2 separate regions of the Homo sapiens genome follow, and region 1 is linked to region 2. Evidence: promoter capture Hi-C in human tissues and cell types (Jung and others, 2019). All regions are on one chromosome and are shown on one strand. Each heading gives the region's core, a stretch centred on a gene start or on the middle of the fragment in contact. The rest is flanking DNA. Distances are from core to core; before and after follow the strand shown.

What was found. Contacts are between HindIII fragments. The study calls those that stand out against the background at their distance.
Region 1: a contact is called between a fragment that was not itself captured here and the fragment with the promoter of C3orf49 in region 2, in 1 of the 25 tissues and cell types used here (mesendoderm cells).

Annotation. Positions count from the first base shown.
Region 1 is chr3:63,764,380-63,771,845 of GRCh38, forward strand. It overlaps the pseudogene CDHR18P. Among named protein-coding and RNA genes, the nearest start is that of C3orf49, 51 kb to the right of the region's middle. The HindIII fragment of the contact is 5,986 bases long and covers 125-6,110 here.
Region 2 is chr3:63,813,766-63,821,076 of GRCh38, forward strand. C3orf49 (chromosome 3 open reading frame 49) reads left to right here and starts at 5,534. Exons shown (of 7, transcript NM_001355236.2): 1 at 5,534-5,831. The coding sequence starts at 5,707. RefSeq lists a silencer at 4,881-5,000. The HindIII fragment of the contact is 1,936 bases long and covers 4,309-6,244 here.

The sequences.
Region 1 (7,466 bases), core at 1,868-4,367, 52 kb before region 2:
AGGGAGGAGAGAGAGAGGGAGGAAGGAGAGAGAGAGGGAGGAAGGAGAGAGAGAGGGAGGAAGGAGAGAGAGAGGGAGGAAGGAGAGAGAGAGGAAGGAGAGAGAGAGGGAGGAAGGAAGGAAAAAGGAAAAAGGAAAGAGGGAAAGAAAGAAAGAAAAATAAGAAAGAAAGGAAGGAAGAAAGAAAGAAAAGAAGAAAGAAAGGAAAAGAGAGAAAGAAAGAAATTCAAATGTGTGGGCTTTTGATTTTCCAGTCTTTCCTCAGAACATTTGTCTAACGTTTGATTTCCTAGTCTCTCAACATTTGCAGTTGTCTGGCAAGGAAATAAGCTGGCTTGAAGTAGTGTGGGTTCCACCCAGTGTTATGCTGGCAAATGTTTAAAAACCAACTCTCTGAAAAAAAACTGGTGTGTGTGTGTGCGCGCGCACATGCGTGCGTGTGCATGCACACACATATTCACATAAATATATGTTTGTTATAAATTTTACTGATATAAAAGATAGGGAATGTAAAATTTACAGTTAACGATGAGATATAAAATACTCTGTATTGTAAATTTCCATATAGACAATTGATTTTCATAGAATGCTTTCACTGATTCACAAACTGTCCTACACATTGCCACACTATGATTGCAAATGACAAATGAGTAGTGCCAACATGAATGTTAGTTGATATTTTCCTTTGTATTAAAGAGTAAGGTGAAAGTGAAGCCGTGGCAGAACTTCACTAGCTCATCAATGATGGGAATGGCTTATTTGCTGAATTGGAAAACAGTTTTTGATTGCTAGAAGACTATTTCCACAATTTTTGTGCACTCACAACAATAATCTCAGACCTTTTTTTTTTTATACTTTAAGTTTTAGGGTACATGTGCACAATGTGCAGGTTAGTTACATATGTATACATGTGCCATGCTGGTGTGCTGCACCCATTAACTCGTCATTTAGCATTAGGTATATCTCCTAATGCTATCCCTCCCCCCTCCCCCCACCCCACAACAGTCCCCAGAGTGTGATGTTCCCCTTCCTCTGTCCGTGTGTTCTCATTGTTCAATTCCCATCTATGAGTGAGAACATGTGATGTTTGGTTTTTTTGTCCTTGCAATAGTTTACTGAGAATGATGATTTCCAATTTCATCCATGTCCCTACAAAGGACATGAACTCATCATTTTTTATGGCTGCATAGTATTCCATGGTGTATATGTGCCACATTTTCTTAATCCAGTCAGACTTTTACATTTAATCTGTATTATTAACATTTTCTCTATCAATTTCTTAAGACAAGATAATTTTTTTTAAAAACTATGAATCAAGTTTTAATATGTAATGTTTGTTGATTTCTATGGTATAAATGCTCTCACCATTTTCAATTTTAAATTTTCAATAATTATTGCTAACTTGGAAAGAGAAATGCAGTAGCATGCCATTCTATCTATGGAATTTCACCATTCTATTTATGGAATTTCACCATTCAGTCCCAACAGATGTGAATAACCTCAAGGCAAATATAATAGTAAAATGTAGTAACATAATTAAGAAGTACTGAGTTTTTAGCATTTACTAACTTTTAACATAACTTTTATAACTAAGTTTATTAATTTATTTTTAAGAATATTATTAATAATCAGGTTATCAAATTCCTGCAGATTTAACAATTGGATCTTGCAAGCCAGTATGATTCAACTCTAGCACACAACTGGTTCCATCCATCCCTTGAAGTATTCAAGTCAAACCTGAAAGAGATGCTGAAGAAAGGATGTGTTCCTCTCTTAGATGACAGAAGATACAAGTAGGACCTCTGCTGTCTCTTCTAAATTTAACGTTCCTTGATCTATACTAACAAATGTGTCCTACTTAATATGTAATAAATGGCTGAAAAAGAACCCTGACTAAGATCTTGACTCTGGACCTAAAATCATGACCCCAGACATTCACAGGATTGAATTGCGTGGACAATGAGCACATCGTTTCTACCTTCTTTGCATTTAGATCTAATTTAGAGGCAAGGGGGAAGATAAATGGAATAAAATTAGTATTGTGTAATTTTTTATTACAAAAATCCTACGTCATCAAATGTTAAGGAAGTCTTCGGGGAGCCATCAAAATGATACACTGAAGGTGTTACCAACGAAAAGTGCCTTGTTCTTGAGTGTCTGGGATTCCATAATGCTCTCTTATTTGCTTGCATTTTGTAAATGTATATGCTTTTTTCCACTGGCCATTCATTTGAAATGTGGTAGGTGTTTCCTTCTGCATGTTTCAACACCATAGACTTGGGGAATCTCTTACCTCCCAACGTTTCCGGAACAGAGAATGAATAGTGTGCAGCTTTAAATACAGGGCTGAAGTCACTGGCAGGAGCAACCTTCACAATGAAGGTCACAGTTGCTGTGAAATTGAACACTGAATAAATGCTTTGTTGTTGTAGTTTTATTCCACAAACAAGCTCCCCGTCCCCCCAGGAACAGGCTTAGCAAGGAATTTTGAAACTGCAGTGGGATTCTCTGTGCTCCCAAGCAACCCCTGCTCCCAGACTGCATTCTCAAGGAACCAAAATAAATTTTGGTGCTAGCCAAAGCAATTTAGTGAAAAATACATAATGTATTGCATGGTATATTTTGTTTTGTATAGTAGAAATATGCATGTATTTATATACATCATTTAAAATATACAATTATATATTTCACACAAGATAGTTTATTGCATTTTTCATGGGTACAGTCTCCTCCATTAGAGAGTTTGTTGGCGTGTCATTCTCAACCCAGCATGTGACATTCTCAATTCTGCTTTTAATGTATATCCTAGAAAGTGGAAGGGAAAGAGACTCAGAAAATCACGTTCAAGGCTTAGCCTTGAACACGTACAGCTGTTCCTCAGTATACACGGGGACTGGTTCCAAGGCCCTGGCATATAACAAAACATGCACATGCTTAAGTCCTGCAGTCAGCTCTGCAGAACCTGTGAATACAAAAGGTTGCCACTCTAATACATGCAGGTTTCTCATACTGAATACTGTATTTTGGATCTGCATTTGGTTGAAAAAAATCTGTATATAAATGGACCTTCACAGTTCAAACCCATGTTATTCATGGTTCACCTGTACCCTGAGGCCTTGAACTAGCTTAATTTCTCCAAGGATCAGTTTCCTCATCAAAGAAAAAAAAAGGAATAACATCAGTTTCAATCTCCTACATCACAGTGTGGGTATGAAGACAAAATAAGATCGTGCCCAAGAAGGTATATTTAAACTATAAAAGGTTAAGTAAAAAGGCAGCTATTACATTTTATTCACCTCAGCCAAATGTTTGTATATTGTGTGTTACCAAAAATGAACTCTGTATTTCAGACAAACAAGCTTAAACTATCATTACAGAGTTGTCAAAAAGAAGGAACTTGATGTCTCAACATAAAAGCAAGAAACTTGCAAACACGGAAAAATTTTAATAAAGGTAAAATAATAATTAACATTTACTGTAAAAGGTACTGATTTGCCATTGGTATTATTGTCCCCATTTCACAGGCAAGAAAACTGAGATTCACAGAGTTCAGTTCTTAGACAAAGATCACAAAACTCATAAGTCACCAGATGGGTATTAAACCAAGCTATGTTCACCAGCATCTCCCAAAATATCTTCTTTGAGATGCTAATGTGTCAAAAGTAGAATCCTAATGAAACAGAGGTAAAAGGTTTCTTTTTGGCAAGACTTCTTCAGATCTCCAATATATCATTATATATGATAAATCTCCAGGTATGCCTTGCTCCCCAAATTTATTTGACCAAAGAATTCTTCTTTAGTGGATTATCTTGTGGAATTCATGTTCTGAAGAGTGCTGGTATTGCCTCTACTGAAAATCCATGCCACGTGTGTCAAATAAGAAAATTTAATCTAGGATTCGTAGGATTCATAGAACGTTTACTTCAGAGAATCTGTGACATTCATTGAATTTTGGTATGTGTTGTTATGTGCATTTTTCAAGGGATAGGATCCACAGCTCTTATCAGAATCTCAAAAGTGTTCATGCCCCACAAGAAAGATTAAGAAGCACTATTCTACAAAGACAGGTGATTTACGTTAAAGCCTCTATATTTCCTACAATGAACGTCACTCATGTGTTGCAAGAGCAGGTGCCATTTACAGCTCTGCCATACAATGATTTTTATTGCATCCATAAACACTCAAAACTATACTAATTAGCTGGCTTGTAAAAATATATTGAACTACTTGTGCACTATTACAAGCATCCTTTATTCACATCCTTTGAATGTGTTGGGTGTGAAGGGACTAGAAAGAATGGGGATTTATTACTGTGAGAAATGTCTTTCCTCTTCCGTATCAGGGAAAGGCTCAAATCTGGTGAGAGGGAAAGACTCTTTTTTGATTAGAAAATCAATATGAGTAGCTGCAAGAAAGTGTATCCATCCTGAAAGGTCAATTGGGCTACAATATAGGCTTCTTGCATCAGAACACAAGTTAGGAACAGAGAAACTACAACAAGAACACTTCTGGGCATAGTGTCATGCTTAAGTCCCTGTCCCTTATACATCATCTTTCCACATGGTTGGGTCATTTAAGTATTCAAATCACCTTTGTAGACTTAGCCTCATTAGAACTCTTGTATCCGTGAGTCAAGAGTGATTTAATGAGCCCTAGATGTGCTGATTACAGTTCAGCCTAAGTTCCCTTTGGTTGCAAACGTATAGATATATACCATCATTCCACTCTTATCCATCCATGACAGACAAAGCACTCTTCCTCATTGCTCCCAGATGCAATCTCAAAATCCTTCTCAATGACCCAGGAAATTACCACCAATGATTCAGACTTCTCACAAGAGAAGAAACTCAAATGCCACCCCTATTCTAGGCTCTCCTTTACCAGGAACTGACATTCTACTACTAAACTTATGTTTGCAACCCAAACACCCACATTGTCTTGAATATCTTTGATGCCAACCAACTGCTCGATTACTTACTACCATATTTTCCAGATACAATAGATGCTTGGCATTAATAACAAATGTATCCAGAATTTTAAGAATCTCTACTTTCACAAATACCTCTATAGCCAACAAATTAACTCTTAAAATGGTAATACATAGGTGAATATGTAAATGACCCTTTAGGGCACTTGTATGTTCTGATGTGTAGTACAATAAGCAAACAGAAGCAGGTGTCAGGTGTTTAACTAAGCTGGGCCACTCTCTAAGTACTCTGCTCTAGATCTATAGCTCACAATTTAAATATGTACCAAAGAGTGGTTTACAATTAGCAAAACTATGACTATTAAATCCACAAATGCCAAGAATTTTATGACCATAGAATCTGGGTGGACTTAATCTCACTGTACCAAAGACTCATTCTAACACAGGCTGACCCAAAATGGTGGGATGGTTATGAAAAGACCAAATGGCAGAGAGGGATAACCATGCCCTGCACCTCCATGAAGGTGTTCCCGGGCTGCGGAACTTGGCAAGTAACTCATGATTTGCATTAATATGGCTCTATATATGTCATATAAAATAATTCAAATAAAATACTTTTAAAACATCCTATTACCTATATGTTCAGACTACATGTTGCCCAACATATGGTTCTTTTCAAGTAAGAAGTGTCTGGCATTACTAGCATAAAGGTATTCAAGTATAAAGCATAAGAGTTAGTTCTACACATCCCTTGCCCCTTCTACCTCCTAGGATCTCTAGCTGGAGTGGTATTTAAGAATTGTGTATTCATTAAGGCATTGTTAAGAGGCAAAAGAGACTTCCCAGATCTAATGAAAACTTCCAACATGAGTCTACTTAATTCTCCTCTTCCTCCTTTGCCCAACTTCAAAAAACTGCCTCAAACACGATGGATCTTTACATTTTAAAATCTAAATTGAAGAGTCTAGAGTATAGACACTTATTGCTCTTTGAAAAGTTTATCCAGATTACCTGTATGGGAAGGAAGTAGGTCATAAAATACTAAAATCATTATTTCATAGGTATGTCCAGCTGCAATTATCTCTGGGTCTTCATAGTCCAACTCTTTAGTAACCTTATAAAATGAGATTTCTTTGAACAAAAATGACCAAATTTTTTAAACGTACATGTTTTCTGTTTTTGTTTTTGTTTTTGTTTTTGAGATGGGGGTCTCACTATGTTGCTCAGGCTATTCTCAAACTCCTGGGCTAAACAATCCTCCCACCTCAGTCTCCCAAGAAGCTGGGATTACAGACATGTGCCACTGCACACCCAGCTAAATGTATGTGTTTCAAGTAATACATCATTCTGCAAAAGGCAAGCATATCTCCATTTTCATTTCACAGGGATGGTCTCAGAATATACCCAAGACTGACACAGACTGACACACAAAAGCAGGCAGTTTGGTGAAACAAAGGCACATCTTAGATTTCCTTCCAGTGTAGATTACTGTTGGACAAAGCATTGTGGCAAAGTAGAATAAAAAACGGGTTGTATCCTGTCTTTACTGCATGTAAATGGTGTGACCTTAGGCAATTTTTTTTTTTATTATTATACTTTAAGTTTTAGGGTACATGTGCACAATGTGCAGGTTAGTTACATATATATACATGTGCCATGCTGGTGTGCTGCACCCATTAACTCGTCATTTAGCATTAGGTATATCTCCTAATGCTATCCCTCCCCGCTCCCCCCACCCCACAACAGTCCCCAGAGTGTGATGTTCCCCTTCCTATGTCCATGTGTCCTCATTGTTCAATTCCCATCTATGACTGAGAACATGCGGTGTTTGGTTTTTTGTCCTTGCAATAGTTTACTGAGAATGATGATTTCCAATTTCATCCATGTCCCTACAAAGGACATGAACTCATCATTTTTTATGGCTGCATAGTATTCCATGGTGTATATGTGCCACATTTTCTTAATCCAGTCTATCATTGTTGGACATTTGGGTTGGTTCCAAGTCTTTGCTATTGTGAATAGTGCCGCAATAAACATATGTGTGCATGTGTCTTTATAGCAGCATGATTTATAGTCCTTTGGGTATATACCCAGTAATGGGATGGCTGGGTCAAACGGTATTTCTAGTACTAGATCCCTGAGGAATCGCCACACTGACTTCCACAATGGTTGAACTAGTTTACAGTCCCACCAACAGTGTAAAAGTGTTCCTGTTTCTCCACATCCTCTCCAGCACCTGTTGTTTCCTGACTTTTTAATGATTGCCATTCTAACTGGTGTGAGATGGTATCTCATTGTGGTTTTGATTTGCATTTCTCTGATGGCCAGTGATGGTGAGCATTTTTTCATGTGTCTTTCAGCTGCATAAATGTCTTCTTTTGAGAAATGTCTGTTCATATCCTTTGCCCACTTTTTGATGGGGTTGTTTGTTTTCTTCTTGTAAATTTGTTTGAGTTCATTGTAGATTCTGGATGTTAGCCCTTTGTCAGATGAGTAGATTGCAAAAATTTTCTCCCATTTTGTAGGTTGCCTGATCACT
Region 2 (7,311 bases), core at 4,284-6,783:
GGCAAAAGCTTCAGCAAGAGGATTTGCTTGAGCCAGGTGGAAAAGCCCCCAGTTGCTATTTCCCCACATGCAAAGGTCTCCCAAATCCTGGTAAAACTGGGGTGGCCAGAATTAGTGAGGACTCTTCAGGAAACTCATGTATCAAAGGATTCTGCTTCACAATGATTCCGGGTCACTAAAGTGACATTGTCCTGTTCTACTCTATGTATTTACTTCACCCAGACTCAGAATAAAAATCTAGAATCTCAGCTTACCAAGTTTGCAGAGGGCTTACAAGTTGCTAGGCAAGGTTAGTATGCAACCAGATAGCAAGAAGATGCAAAAACAGTCTAATAACGGGCCAGGAGCCAACTGAATGCTTGTGAGTATGTTTAACTTAAAGCTTAGGGGAAAATCACCTTTAGGAGCACTGATGGGAGATACCTGGCTGAACAGAGAGTTAACATGAAAGCATCTCTGGAGGCAGCAAATTGGTGACCCACAGGCTAAATATGGCCTGCAGATCACATTTTTAAATGTGCGAGTCTTCTTAAAGATTTGAAGTTCAATAGAATTGGATTGGTCCAGTACTCTACAGTTTACCACAATTCCCACCCCTCCCTTTTACACCCCACCCACTGCTTCTCACATTTCCCTGCTTGGTTCCTGCGGTTATTCATGTTTGCAATCTCTGACTTAGAGGTTTCAATCAATTGCTATCTCAATAGGAGTCAACTGTTGTCATGGTTACCTGAATAGGATTATGCAATCTCAGACATGTTCAAAGGAAGAATACTGTTAAGAACAAGGGAGATTGTGTTTTGACCAGATTTTGTCCTGCTACAGCTGGCTTTTTGGCTTTTCAGAGGGACATTTACAAATGTCCGGGGAATGATCACACAGGGATAGCTCCAAGCCATGTCCTGTGAAGGGTGGTTGATAAAGAGAGTTGACTGATGGGGGACTCCTGAATGGGTGCCCTTCTCCTTAGTTCCACTGTTCCCCCTTTAGTTAAACCCTTGGACTACAGCAACAACTTAACACCCCAACTGAGTATCTCTTCTCTACTCACCCCCTATAGTAGGCTGTTCTTGCATTACTATAAAGAAATACCCAAGACTGGGTAATTTACTAAAAAAAAGGTTTAATTGACTCATGGTTCTGCAGGCTGTACAGGAAGCATGGCACCAGCATCTGTTTTTTGGGAGGCCTCTGGAAGCTCACAATCCTGGCTGAAGGCGAAGTGGGAGCTTGCACATCACTACGTGAAAGCAGGGGCAAGAGAGAGAGCAGGGAGTGCCACGCACTTTTAAACAACCAGATCTTGCAAGAACTCACTTGCTATCACGAGGACAGTAACAGGGGATGCCACAAAACCATGGGTGAGAAACTGCCCCATGATCCAATCACTTCCCACCAGGCCCCACCTTCAACACTGGCAATTACATTTCAATATGAGATTTGGGCAGGGACACATATCCAAACTGTATCATCCCCTATATCCCAGTTCATTTCAGGGACACATATCCAAACTGTATCTCCCCCATATCCCAATTCATTTCAGTATTTAACTTCTTAAATATTGCCTGGATCTGCACACTTCTGGTACTCCTCACCCCCATCTGTTGCCGGCCTGGACCAAGTGCCTACCTAATGACTTTTCAACACTCACTTTTTCCTCTCCAATGTATTCTCCAAGCTGCACACAGCAACATTTTAAAAACGTATGCATAACTATGCCTTCCCCATGTCACCTATGTTCCCACCACATTGCTCTTCTTCCTGCCCTCAGACATGCCTGGTTTGCACCTGCATGTGAACCTTTGCTCATGTCGTTTTCTGTCTTTGAAATACCTCTCCCAGATCTCAGCATAGTTTGTCTCTTTTTCAACATTAAATGTCTCACTTCAAACACCACCTCCTTAAGAGATCTTTCTTGATGATTTTGGAGGAGTGCCCACTCCCAGTCACTTTCTACCACGTTTTTCTACTTTTTATTTGTTTGTTTTTTTCTTTTCTTTTCTTTCTTTTTTTTTTTTTTTTGACAGAGTCTTGCTCTGTCGCCAGGCTGGAGTGCAGTGGCCTGATCTCAGCTCACTGCATCCTCTGCCTCCTGGGTTCAAGCGAGGAGGCGTGAAGCCGGGAGGTTCTCCTCCCTCGTCCTCCTGAGTAGCTGGGATACAGGCGTGTGCCACCATGCCCAGCTAATTTTTCTATTTTTAGTAGAGACGGGGTTTCACCGTGTTGGCCAGGATGGTCTCGATCTCTTGACCTCGTGATCTGCCTGCCTCGGCCTCTCAAAGTGCCGGGATTACAGGCATGAGCCACCATGCCTGGCCTGTTTTTCTTTTTATTTATTTATTTTTAATTCTTTTTTCTTTGTTGATTTTGTTTTTTTTTTTCTATTTGTCTCATAGCATACTTTGTCAGTACCTGAAACAATTTTCTATTGGTTAACATATTGGTGTCTGTGTCCTCCACTAGAATTGTAATTCCTGGGCAAGGATTTTAGTCATTTTCTTCACAACTGAATTCCATTTCCCTGAATAAATATATGAACAAGTTCCCTAAAAACCCTCAGTAAGGCTGTAATCCCAGCACTTTGGGAGGCTGAGGCAGGTGGATCACCTGAGCTCAGGAGTTCCAGACCAGCCTGAGCAACACGGTGAAACCTCGTCTCTACTAAAAATACAAAAAATTAGCTGGGCGTGGTGGCACGTGCCTGTAACCCCAGCTACTCAGGAGGCACAAGAATCGCTTGAACCCAGAAGGTAGAGGTTGCAGTGAGCGTGGTGCCACTGCACTCCAGCCTGGGTGACAGAGTAAGATGCTGTTTAAACAACAACAACAACAACAAACAAACCAAAAAAACCTCAACAACTCCCCATTGCTCTGAAGATCAAGACCAAAACCTTTAATTTGATCTATAGGACTCAAGAGATTTGGTCCTCCCTCCAGCTTATCACACACATCTACCTCTTTGCTCCAGCCACCCTAGCTTTCTTCCACATTTTCTTTTCTTTTCTTTTTTTTTTTTTTTTTTTGTGAGACAGAATCTTGCTCTGTCGCCCAGGCTGGAGTGCAGTGGCGCGATCTCGGCTCACTGCAAGCTCTGCCTCCCGTGTTCACGCCATTCTCCTGCCTCAACCTCCTGAGTAGCTGGGACTACAGGCACCCGTTACCACGCCCGGCTAATTTTTTTGTATTTTTAGTAGAGATGGGGGTTTCACCACGTTAGGCAGGATGTTCTCGATCTCCTGCTCTCGTGATCCACCCACCTCGGCCTCCCAAAGTGCTGGGATTACAGGCGTGAGCCATCGCACCTGACCGCTTTCTTCCACATTTTCAAAGACACTGGGCTTCTTCCACCTCCGGGCTTTGGCACATGCTGTTTCATCTGCCTGGGTCACACAAATTTTCACACGATTGGCTCTTTTCCCCGTTCAGCATTCAGGACCAATGACCTCATTGGACAGGCTTTCCTAACGCTCCATCTAAAGTCACTCCTCATCCTCAGTCACTCTATCCCATCATCCTCTTTTACTTTTTTCATAACATTTACTACCAGCTGAAATTAAAATGTTCATTTCCTTGTTACCTGCATCTCCCACAGCATATTAAGTTATATGAGTTCAGAGATTTTGTGTATGTTGTTCACTGCAGTATCCCTGGTGTCTAGGGTGGTGTCTAGGGTGGTGCCTGGGAACCACTAGGCATTCAAATATTTGTTAAATAACTGAATGACTCAAAGAAGCTTGGGAGGTAGCAGTTATTACTCCTGTTTTACGAACGAGAAAATGAAGGTCCAAAGAGGTTTTCGTTACCCGCCCAAGGACCCATAAGCTTGGAAGGGGTAGATCTAGAATGTAAATCCAGACACAGCTCAAAATTGATGTCTCTCTATACTCTAACTCTTTCCCCACCCCCTTCCCACTCCTTCTAGTTCTGTCATCTGCTTCAGGACTCCTTTGGGAACCTACAAGTTTTGTCACAGATGCCACAGCAGCAAGTGTTTCAGCCTATTACATACACACATACATGCAGACATGCACACACAGAGACATGTACATAGACACCCATGCACAAATAAAAAACAGCTGTCTTTCCTAGCATAAAATTCATCTCATTCATCTAGATAATTGATGAAATACAACAGAATTAAGGCAGGAGTGCCAATAATTGCATGAAAAATATTGCCCTGTTGCTAAAGAAAATATTCATGTATTCATTTATTCAAGCACCTATTATTTATTGTGCTCTGAGGATGCCAACAGATGAGGAAAAACAGACCAGGGAGGAGCATATGTCCATTTGGCCAAGGCATATTAGATATGCTCTACTTCAGCGTTTCTCAAATAAGGGACAGAGGAACATCTGCACCCACTCTCCTAGAATATGGATTCCTGGGTCTCATTCCCTGCTGAAGCGGAATTTCTATTTCACTTGAATTTTGCCATAAAACTATGGCTTGGGCACTATGAGTTGTCCCACTTTAGGGATGAGAAAACAAGCATGGGTGGGTTAAAATGAATTGGCCAAGGTCACATAGCTAAGCTAGAAATGAGAACTCATGCATAATTCCCAAATCCACTCTCTTAGCCCCTTAACATTATACACTTCATTCTAGACCATTTTAAAGCTCTTTTCCCCAGTACTGAAACATACAAGACCCTCACTACTCCAAGTGCAGTCTGGCATCATCAGCGTCACCTGCGGGTTTGTTAGGAGTGCAAATTCTTGGATCCCAGCCCAGATGTACTGTATCGAAATCTGCATCTTAAAAAGACCTCCAGGAAGTTTGTGTGCACTTGAAAGCTTGAGAAGTATGCTCCAGATTATTGATTAATGCAAACACAGAAAGCAGAGTAATTCTTGTAACTCCCAGAACCTTTCTAGAGGAGTTTTTCTTGTTAAGCATCTAGTTATTTGACTGAACAACTCAAACCGCGAGAGGGTAACAGGAATAAATCCTAGTGTCTGCTGCCACCTTGTGGTGAGAAGTTCCATCACAGGCAGAATTCGCTCTTCACCACGAAATAAATGGGGCAATGTTGGAAGGGAGGGGTGGATCAGGTCCTCAATTTAGCAATGTACTTTGAGAGACCACTGCAAAATTCCAAGATGTAATGAAAACCACCCTTGGGGTACATTTTGAGATGTCCAAACAACAACTGGCCTTGTCATATGTGTCCCACAGGACACAGAGAACATTCACCAGCTGTAACTGAGAGATCTAACAGAAGCTCAACTTGTGTTAATCAGCGTATCGTTGGTATTCCTATAGGTCCCTACCACTTCAGAGTTCAAATACGCACTTCTGAATGTGGTGGTCAATTAGTGTGTGGGTGTTTTTTGTTGTTGTTGTTGTTGTTTGATTTTTTTTTTCTATCCAAATGCCAGCATTGAGGCAATCAGATCATCATTTCTGTATTTGCCTTGTTCAAGAATCTGTGAAGTGTTCCACAAAGGTCCATGGAATTTCACACAGCTCTGTCAAATACATCACTGGTGACCTCTGTGAAGTTGTAAACAGGGCCAGTCCCACAAATAATGTCTCTAACACCTGGAAGGGAATAAGGGAAAGACTCTAAAAATTTCCTACATATTTTATTCCGAATAGCCCACACCTTGACAGTACATTCAGTCACTGGATGATTTTGTATTGAAGTCTGTAAGTTCAAGAACTAAAACAATCCAAAACGGCTACTACAGGTGAAGTTGAGAGCAATGGCCCAACCTCAGCTGTATCTACCAGAACCCTTTAAGATTGCCTACAGAAAAGTTGGACAGTGCCGAAGATTCCAGCAACTCAAGAAGAAAAATGGCTCATTCAAAAGGAAGGGGATAGAAAGGTAACAGAGATTCATTTCCTTTTCTGTCAAATGAGAGTCTTTGGGTTTGGCATAGTGGCATGTCCTTTTAAGCATTGCATTTAGGAATGAGGACTCTGGATGGATTGGCGGGGAGGGTACTGCGTTGGATCAAGAAATCTAGTGTGACAATGTAAGCTTCATTTTATGATCAGAAACATCTTAATTGTAACAGGGAAAACCTTTCCTTTCCACTCGAAATTAAGTTTCAATGTGGCATAGGAGACTAAAATAAGTTCTGATCCTATGTTGATATTTCAGCATCAGAATTTTGGACATCTCACATCCCGTGAAAATACTATTATTTTGAAAAGTCATTAGTGCATTCTTCGAAATAGGTCCACGATCAGTGCTTTCTTTCTCCTATCCCAGCAATTTGGGCTGCTGAAATATGTACTAATCACATTTCACTATGGACACATTGTTTAATGTAACGTTAAAACTGCCTTAGACTTGCTATTTTTTTGCCAATGACAAAACCATATAGACAGGTATGAAACATCCAAAATATAATATATTTTAATTTGGAAAGTCAGTGTGGTGATTTATTTTCCAATTTCTTTGGGCTTCTCTCTTACCAGGTCCATGGGCTATAGTTCAGACATGTAGAAGTGAGGTGTTTTAATGAGTCCTGGAAGCATCAAAGACCAAGCTTGTGAACTTCCATGGACAAAATAAAATACTGCAGAGATTTCCACTTTCAATGAAAAGTAGGCACTCCGGGGGAAGCAATACAACCAAATAAATTCAGTACCAACACAAAAATATTTAAAAACTTAAGAAGGGGAGGGTTCTGCTCATATCAGAAATTGCAGCAGTGTGTTCCTAGGCTCTGGAGCTAAATCACCTTTGTTAATTATGTTCTAGATAGATTGGGGATGAGAGTGGGGAGGATGGGAATGGGAAACACCTTCTAGAGATTCTGAGACCACTTAGAACTGGGCTTTTAACATGGGTGGTCTTCAAAATTCCTGAATCTCCTGAAACTGTATTTGCATTGTTCTGTGTCACAGTATGTGTATGTGTGTACATGTTTATAGTAGTAGAATCACTTAAAAATTAAATTATTATTAAAGGAGTCTCAGAGGGGTCTACGGGAGATTAATCCTACCCATAAGTTATCTCTGGGTGAATTAGGAAATGGTGCTCCCTCCTCAGGACATTTTACTGCCATCTGCCAGAAAATCATTATAATAACTATACACAAGTCTAAGGATGAAATTGAATAGCACCCCCTAGAAGTCATATATGTACATTTTGCAGAACCCTGCCCTTGGTCCCAGAAGGGAGGCTGCTAGCTTCTCCCTTATTTTGCCCTCTAGTGTGGGCTCCCTGCTTGCCTTTTAAGTTAATGGATTTTCCCCATAAGTTAATGGCTTTTCCCCACTGTTCTGATCCACATGGTAATAAAAAGTATCATTTATGGAATGCTTTTTAAGGTTCCAAACACATGAATTATTTC